3 separate regions of the Homo sapiens genome follow, and all the other regions are linked to region 3. The links are contacts of gene promoters, found by promoter capture Hi-C in human tissues and cell types (Jung and others, 2019). All regions are on one chromosome and are shown on one strand. Each heading gives the region's core, a stretch centred on a gene start or on the middle of the fragment in contact. The rest is flanking DNA. Distances are from core to core; before and after follow the strand shown.

Evidence for each region. Contacts are between HindIII fragments. The study calls those that stand out against the background at their distance.
Region 1: a contact is called between a fragment that was not itself captured here and the fragment with the promoter of APOBEC2 in region 3, in 2 of the 25 tissues and cell types used here (IMR-90 fibroblasts and mesenchymal stem cells).
Region 2: a fragment that was not itself captured here is called in contact with the fragment with the promoter of APOBEC2 in region 3 in 1 of the 25 tissues and cell types used here (mesenchymal stem cells).

Annotation. Positions count from the first base shown.
Region 1 is chr6:40,915,526-40,918,225 of GRCh38, reverse strand. The region is part of intron 1 of LOC101929555 (a long non-coding RNA gene); the gene reads left to right. Among named protein-coding and RNA genes, the nearest start is that of UNC5CL, 120 kb to the left of the region's middle. RefSeq lists an enhancer at 1-233. The HindIII fragment of the contact is 7,549 bases long and covers 1-2,700 here.
Region 2 is chr6:40,897,605-40,900,304 of GRCh38, reverse strand. All of the region lies in intron 2 of LOC101929555 (a long non-coding RNA gene), which reads left to right. Among named protein-coding and RNA genes, the nearest start is that of UNC5CL, 140 kb to the left of the region's middle. RefSeq lists enhancers at 1-292, 293-804. The HindIII fragment of the contact is 3,939 bases long and covers 1-2,700 here.
Region 3 is chr6:41,051,921-41,054,620 of GRCh38, reverse strand. It overlaps APOBEC2 (apolipoprotein B mRNA editing enzyme catalytic subunit 2), which reads right to left and starts at 1,419. Exons shown (of 3, transcript NM_006789.4): 1 at 1,143-1,419. The coding sequence starts at 1,273. The HindIII fragment of the contact is 7,265 bases long and covers 481-2,700 here.

The DNA of each region.
Region 1 (2,700 bases), core at 29-2,528, 140 kb after region 3:
AGGTGGGGAGGAGGGAATAGCATGCTCAAAGGCATGGAGGAGTGGGAGGACAGGGCTGAAACCTCTTTGGACCTGTGGGCCATTTATCCTGGCTTCTGTGTCCAACAGGGAGATCAAGGGATTGCATGTCCACCTGACATTATTCTCATAGGTCTGGTGCAACTTAACCCCACAACTATACTTAGGACCCTGTTATAGCTCTGGTATCCAGGAATTTATCAAAACCATTGTGAATCAATTGATTTTTTCCTAGAATCTGTGGATGCTAGCGTTGGGAGAAGCTTCAAGGAGTAGCTAGCCCCCTAATCATGCTAACCACCCAGGGAGCAGTTGGAAATGGAAATTAGCCTCAGTTCAGGGTATGTGGGCACTATTGATTGGGTTCATTGCCCTCATTTCAGAGCTAAGGAAGCTATAGCCCAGAAAGGGGAAGTCCGTTATTCATTCAAAGTCACTGAACAAATTACTAGCTTCTACTCAGTTCTTCTGGCTCCAAACCCAGTACTCTTTGCAGCACATAAGGTCTCTTTTTCCAAAAGAGGGTGATCTAGCCTCTTTCCATGCCCATGAACCAGGAGCACGGTCCCTCTTTGCTCCATTCTTACCTTTCCTCAAATTCAAGGGTGCACAGCCCTTCTTAATACTGTAACATCTAGGCCTGGTGGGGTGGCTCATGCCTGTAATCCCAGCATTTTGGGAGGACAAGGCGGGTGGATCATGAGGTCAAGAGATCAAGACCATCCTGGCCAACATGGTAAAACCCTGTCTCTACTAAAAATACAAAAATTGGTTGGGCATGGTGGCACATGCCCATAGTCCCAGCTACTTAGGGGGCTGAGGCAGGAGAATCTCTTGAACCAGGGAGGTGGAGGTTGTAGTGAGCTGAGATTGGGCCACTACACTCCAGCCTGGCAACAAAGTGAGACTCCGTCTCAAAAAAACAAAACAAAACAAAACAAAACAAAAAACCAAATACTGTAACATGTAGCTAACAAGCCCTCCTCCCCACTCATGACCTTCATAGTTGTATCACTCCATGACTTTCCTCTTTCTAGGCTGCCTGGTTAGGACAATGCCTGATCCCCTCCTTCTGCTTGCAGGGAAATGCCTCTGGGCCTCAAGGTCATGTGAACCATCCCTTCTCCACCTCCTGCAGCTCCCTTCTCTCCACTGAGAAAATGCATCTAAGTAAGGCATTCTGGCTAGAGTAAGGAGAAGTGGCAAATTGGGAAGGAATCCAGGGCTCCAGCTCTTTTCCATAAATCAGCTCAGAAGTTCCCCAGAGCAAATCCTTCTTGACTCTGGTCTCATCTTCTTTATCTGGCAATGGCAGGCACTAGGAGAGTCTGAACTACATGACCTCTAGCCCCTCCAGACGTGGGGGCCGATGGGACTCATTTTCTGTGAGTCTGCAAGTAAAGGGACGATGGGGACCAGCTACCGTAGATGAAACCTGCCGTTCTCAGTCTTGACCCACATGCCTGGGAACTGGGGCATGATGGAGACCAGAACTTGAATGTCATGACAGAAGCTGGGAAAAGAGGCAAATAAACCAACATGGACTGCAAAGAGCTTGTGGGCCATTTGCCACTTGTTTTTCTGTTTTTCCACCTATCAGTCTGTACACTTGCTTTGGCATTTATGTGGTTTCAGAAGGCTATTATCTTGTCAACATTGTTCTACAGCATTGACATTATCTCTTAATTACACAATTACTTTGTTATGTACTGTAGATCTAGTAATAAAACATTTGAAGTGTTCAAGCACAGACAAGAATTTTTAAAATATGATTTGAGTCAAACCATCTTGTAAAAACCACTAATAAATGTCATAACCAGAGGAGACCTCTGTTCATTCCCCCACTGAGAGGAAGAAGAGCTAAGGCCCAGGGAGAAGGGACCTGCTGCTGGTCACACGGATAATTACTAGAATGAGTTTTGCAGACATGAGAGCTCACTGCAGATCATACAGCAACTGAGAGCAGAGTTGGGACTAAAGCTCAGGCCTGACGATTCCTGGGTTACTGCATTTTTTCTTTTTCATAAATAGGTTATACCCTTTTCTCCACCATGTCACCCTGAAGGTCTGTTTAGGTCACACAGTTAACCCTGAGTTGGGGAGCCAATCCCCAAAGCACTGGATTACTCTAAGGGTCAGGTCCCACTTCTCCTAGATGCTTAGTGGGTTAAGGAACATGATAAAGCCCCACTGGGCTAAATCTGTCCTCCATATTAAAGAATTTTGTCTCAAGAAGCTCCCATTTATTAAGAAGCAAATGGCCAGTTGGCACATGAAACTATTTGTGCTGTTGGCAATGACTAGTTTATTAGCCAGGAAATTCAGCCTGAGTTTATGGCACACAGGACTGGTGATGATGGTGGCTGAGGGAGCAGGAGGGAGAAGATACACAAAGTGGATGACCTGGGAAAGTCAGGCTGACTTGCAGTACAGATGGGGAATTTTGGAGCTGGAAGCATCCTGAGAATAGTCTGAAGGACTCCCCAAAGGGACAGGATCTACCCTTTGATGAAATTCACTCGTTTTCCATTGCTTGTGATCCAAGTCTAAACTGAGCAGGGCTGGCACTTGTCATAAGTCCCCTGCAGTGACTATGGAGAGCCCTGCAGATCTGTTACTTTCTATCTCTGAGCTTGGAGACATCCTTAGAATTCTTAACTAAACTTCCACAGTTTCCTCAGA
Region 2 (2,700 bases), core at 126-2,625, 150 kb after region 3:
ACTTCAGTTCATACTCACATGCAATTGACTAAGATGTTTCTGAGTGCAGAACACAGACTTTTAGTTGAGAAATTGAAGTGAACATTGAACTAATGTATAATTTCCTAAAGGGTCCCACAAAGGATGACTAGGGACAGTAAAAGGGAGCCAGGGAAGCCTCAGAGTAGGACTCAGAGGTCCTTATTACTTGGCCAATGGTTGGCCTGCCCCATCAGGTGCCTTAGAGCCCACGCCAATGCCCCTGGACTCATGAGTGACCCCCGTGGCCTTATCTGAGTGGCTGATCTGACAGAGCAAGGTGTGTGCTTTGCGCCTGCTGAGTTACTGCCAGCTGCCTGTGGTGGATAAACAGGCAGGCCTCTGGGCGGCCCTCAGGACTCTATAGTGAACAAAGAAAGTCGTTCAGATGTTTTCAGATTGTATTGAGTTAAATCAAAGGCCAAGAGAGCAGAGGTCTTTGCAGTTCTTTGTTGTAGAGGGTGGCCCCTGGGCGAGTCCCTTATCATACTCTCTTCTATTTAGATGTGTTTCTTTGAACCTTCCCGCAGAAAGTGATGCCCTTTGACAGGCTCCCTCAGCTTGCCAAGGATAAGCAGTGTGCAGTTGTGAGGGATTCCCAGGGTCTCTTCTCCCATAACATTTATTGTCAGTCCTGCCTACCTGAAACTTCATCTTTTCTTGTACTCAAAATAGAGAAAGTGGGTGCCTAAGTGAACCCACTGAGCCCAGCCCCCTCAATGAGGAAACTGAGGCTCAAGAAAATGAAACTTTCTTCATATTCATGTAGTGCTTTGAGTTCATCCTGTTTTGCCACATATGCTCACGTGGTTTTCCATTTCCTTCATTAAACAGCCCTTTATGAAGGGCCTACTGTGTGCCAGGCACCGTTTAGGCATTGGATGGGTGTATGGGTTTGGCTGCAAGTTACAATACTCAGCCAGTAGTGGCCTAAACTCTTACCAGAAAGGGGTCCCAATCCAGACCCCCAAGAGAGGGTTCTTGGATCTCGTGCAAGAAAGAATTCGAGGCAAATCCACAGAGTAAAGTGAAAGCAAGTTTAATAAGAAAGTAAAGGAATAAAGAATGGCTACTCCATAGGCAGAACAGCCCTGAGGACTGTTGGTTGCCCATTTTTATGGTTATTTCTTGATTATATGCTACCAAGGGGTGGATTATTGATGCGTCCCCTTTTTACACCATATAGGGTAACTTCCTGATGTTGCCTTGGCATTTGTAAACTGTCATGGCACTGGTAGGAGTATAGCATTGAGGATGACCAGAGGTCACTCTCATCGCCATCTTGGTTTTGGTGGGTTTTAGCCAGCTTCTTTACTGCAGCCTGTTTTATCAGCAAGGTCTTTATTACCTGTATTTGTGCTGACCTCCTATCTCATCCTGTGACTTAGAGTGCCTAACTGTCTGGGAATGCTGCCCGGTAGGCCTCAGCCTTATTTTACCCAGCCTCTATTCAAGATGGAGTTGCTCCAGTTTAAACACCTCTGACAAAACAATGCAGGCATTCATTATCTCATCTAAAATAAGAAAGAAGTCCAGGGCTGTGGTCCTTAGAGGCTGTAGGGTCCACAGCTCAGCAGTGCCATCAAGAACCATTCTTGGTGGGTCAGTGATATCTCCCCTCAGATGGCAAGATGGCCATCATAGCCCCCAACAACATCCTAATGCTCAAAGACAGAAGCAAGACAGAACAGGGACCTTCACTTTGCTCTTTTTTTTTTTTTTCCATAGGGGAAGAACACCTTTCCTAGAAGTGCCCAGGTGCCTTCTTATTATAACCCAGTGACCATATCTGGATCACATGCCTGTTTCTAGACCAGTCACAGGCAAACCAGAATGGGATGCCATAAATGGCTGCCTTGGGCCAATTGTGATGTGCTGTTCATGGGAAAAGCAGTGAGTCTATCATGTCCACTAAGAGCACAGGCTCTGGAGCCCGATGGCCACAGTTCAAATCATGGCTCCATCACTTCTGATTTATATAACCCTGGGCAAGGAGCTTAACCTTTTGTTCCTCAGTTTTCCCATCTGTAAAATGGTGATAATGATACTTCACAGGTTGATGTAAGGATTAAATGTTTAATGTACATAAGGTGCTTAGCACAGTACTTGGCTCACAGTAAAGGTTAACTACTAATTATCTATTGTATATTTCAAAGGAGCTAGAAGACAGCAATTCAAATGTTTCTAGCATGAAGAAAAGACAAATATTTAAGGCAATATATATCCTGAGTATGATGATTTGATCTTTACAAGTTATTCAAATGTGTTAAATGATCACATGTATCCCCAATGTATGTACAACTATTATGTATCAATAAAAAATAAAATTTCAAAAAGTTAAAAAAAATAACGATCATCCTCAAGACTGAGCAATTTCTTGCCTGAATAAAATCAGGAAAAGGTCCTAGGTTTTGGATGGACAACTCCAGTGCCTGCCATGTGCGGTTGCCCTCCGGTTCACAGACAAGTAAACAAGCAATGTTGAAATCTTGTGCCATGGTACTAGATACTGTGCGCCGCCCCCCTCAACAGGAGGGGTGCCTGGTCCAGACTTGGGGGATGTCAGAGAAGGCTTCTCAGAGGAGGTGGCACTGATGTAGGTTTTCAAAATATATAGCAGTGGCTCGGCAAAGGCAGAGTGTGGGTGGGTGGGAAAGGAAGGTTCTCCAGGCAGAGGCAGCA
Region 3 (2,700 bases), core at 170-2,669:
AATAGGATGCATTTTCCCTTAGGTTCTCTTGAAAATCAGAAAACATCTGAGCTGGAAGGGACCTTACTACTATAGATCTTCATGTTATAAGTGCTAAAACTGTGGCTGACTGGAAAATCACTTGTCAAGCTTGAAATATCAAGTCCAAATTGCCACTCAGGGCTTCCTTTCCCCCTTGAAAGCATCATGCCTCCTTTCTTCCTGAAACTTCTCTTAGTCTCGCACCCACTCTGCCTGTGGTCATTCCTGGAGACCCCATGAAGGGAACGTTTGGTTCAAGGAGGAAATATGGCCTCATAGATTCTCTTTTTATTCTTTGCTCAGGATTTAGAAGGGTCTTCCACTACAGGAATAGAAAGGGAAGAGGAAGAAGACTACTTAGTTTTATTCCTGGAGATGGCATAATCTGGATAAGACAGAGGTACCCTGCACACAGCCCCCTCCTTGCAGTCTGTAGACCCTTTTCTTTGGGTCCCAGTTCCTCCAGGCAATGCCTGAGCATGTTGGAACAGCTCCTGTGTCCATAAGCTCCTGGGCTGCGTTATCTGCATGTAATTTCTCTGTTTCTCTGTGGGACAGCCCCTGAGGAGACTCAAAAGATTTAATAAGAAAAAAGCTGCTTCTGAGTCTTGGGAAAGGATGGATCTATCTTTCCTGTCTTGGGAGCATCTACTCCAGGAAGAAGCTCTAAAGAAAGGGCTAGAGGCCTATGGCTAGCGGAGAGACCCACTCAGGAACAGAGAAGTTGAGGGGAAGGGTTGCTTTGAACGGAGCCACATATAGATGTGCCAGTCTCATCCTCTGTCCTCGCCAAACTCCCTGGGACTAAGCTTCTACCCAGAGAGGCAGGTGGCCATCCCAATACCAGGAGGCCTGAAGGGTGGTTTTATTCTCTGGGCTTTTGCCTCCAAGGAGCTCCTCCTACCTCTCCCTGATTAGAGAGCCCAAGGTGTCACCCTGAGAAGCCAAGAGAATTTGCTGCTGGGTCCCCTACCACCCCTGCCGGGCCCACTGGTGCACTCTCACTGCTGCAGGGTTGTAGCTGTCCCTGACGCCTAATATAACCATCCTGAATTTCCACAGCCTAACCCAAGGCTGCACTCTTCTAGGGAGCAGAACCCTGACCCACATCTGAGGCTTACCCTGTGACAATCTCAAAGGGCGGCAGCTCAATCAGCTCTTTCAGCTTCTCAGGGTCGTCCAGGTTCTCCAGATCCTCCCCATTCTGGGAGGCAGCCTCAGTGGCCACAGCAGCCTCTTCCTTCTGGGCCATGGAGGGGCTGTGGCTCAGGAGTCACTGAGGGAGAGGAGAGAGGCAGGCAGGTCTGGGCCAGGCCCTGGCGGCAGAGTCCCAAGCAGCTGTCAGCAGCTAAATCTGGCTGGGGATGACGGGAAAAGGACCCAGCAGGCCAGGCTTCGTGCTTTCCCCACTTAGCCACAGGCTTTATAGCCAAGGCCTCCTGCCCCTCCCCCAGGCTCTCTCCCTCTATCTTTTTTTAATTGAGTGACAGCGGGTGCTGGGGTGGGGGAATGGAAAATCTGGCCATTAGTATCCCCTATTTATCAGTAGGCAAAGACAGGAACCTGGCAGGTGGGTATGGCTTGGCCTGCTCTCTTCTCCCTCTCCCTCTCAGCTCACCTTATGTTCTCCCCTTTGTTTCCCACCCAAATTCCCTAGCTCCACTGGGGGAGAGTGTGGAAGGGGCCCCAGGGCAGGCATCCTGAGATTTAGGAGGGTGGCCTTCTGAGATTTAAACAGGAGGAGATGTGTGTTGAAAGGGGCTGACTGCAAAAAGACCCAGGCCATTTGCTTTGGGGGAACGTGGGTTCAGGAAAGGAGGGGTCCTGGCAGAGGTGGGATCAAAACTGACAATTTGGGGAGTAAGTGTGTGAGTTATGACTCAAAAGCGGTGGGTGCTGATTTGCCTGTTACAAAGCCATAATGTAATGTCAAATCGATCAGGAGCCTCCCTGAGTAACAATAGCTGCCATTTACTTAGCTCAGAGATTTTGAAACAGGCCAGGCAGTGGGTTTAGGGGTTTAAATGAAATCAGATGCATGCTTGCCACAGCCATGGGAGGCGATGTGTATTATCCCAAGTTACAGGTAAACTGAGTCACAGAAGTGTGCAGAGCCGGGATTAAAATGCAGGCTTTTGTACTTCAGGCCAAATATTCAACCTCCATGCTATGTGCCCTCACAGTCAGTCTTTTATTCTTCTTAACAAATATTTATTGAGTATCTACTCTATGCCAGGTGCTGTTTCAGGTACTGGGAATATGGCAAAAGAACAAAGCAAATGAAAATCCCTGCTGTGATGATTTGTGGAGCTTGAGGAACTGAACAACAAATAAGGTAAGTAAAATACATGGTCTATTTTGTGATGACAAGTGCCAAGGAGAAAAGACAGGAAATGGAAACAGGAAGTGCTAAGAGGTGGGGTTACGTACTTATAGGATGGCCAGGGTGAAGGACTTTGAAAAGGAGACAATTGAAGAAGACGTGAAGAAGGCAAGGGAACTAATCATTTGGTTGTCTAAGAGGAAAGCGTTCCAAGGAAGGGAACAACGTGAGCAAAGGCTCTGAGAAGGGAGCATTCCTGGGGTGTTTGAGGAACTAGCGAGGACATACATCTGGGTGACTGAAGAGTTCTAAGAGATTAAGCCAGAGAGATAACAAGGGTAAAAGGGACTGGGGCC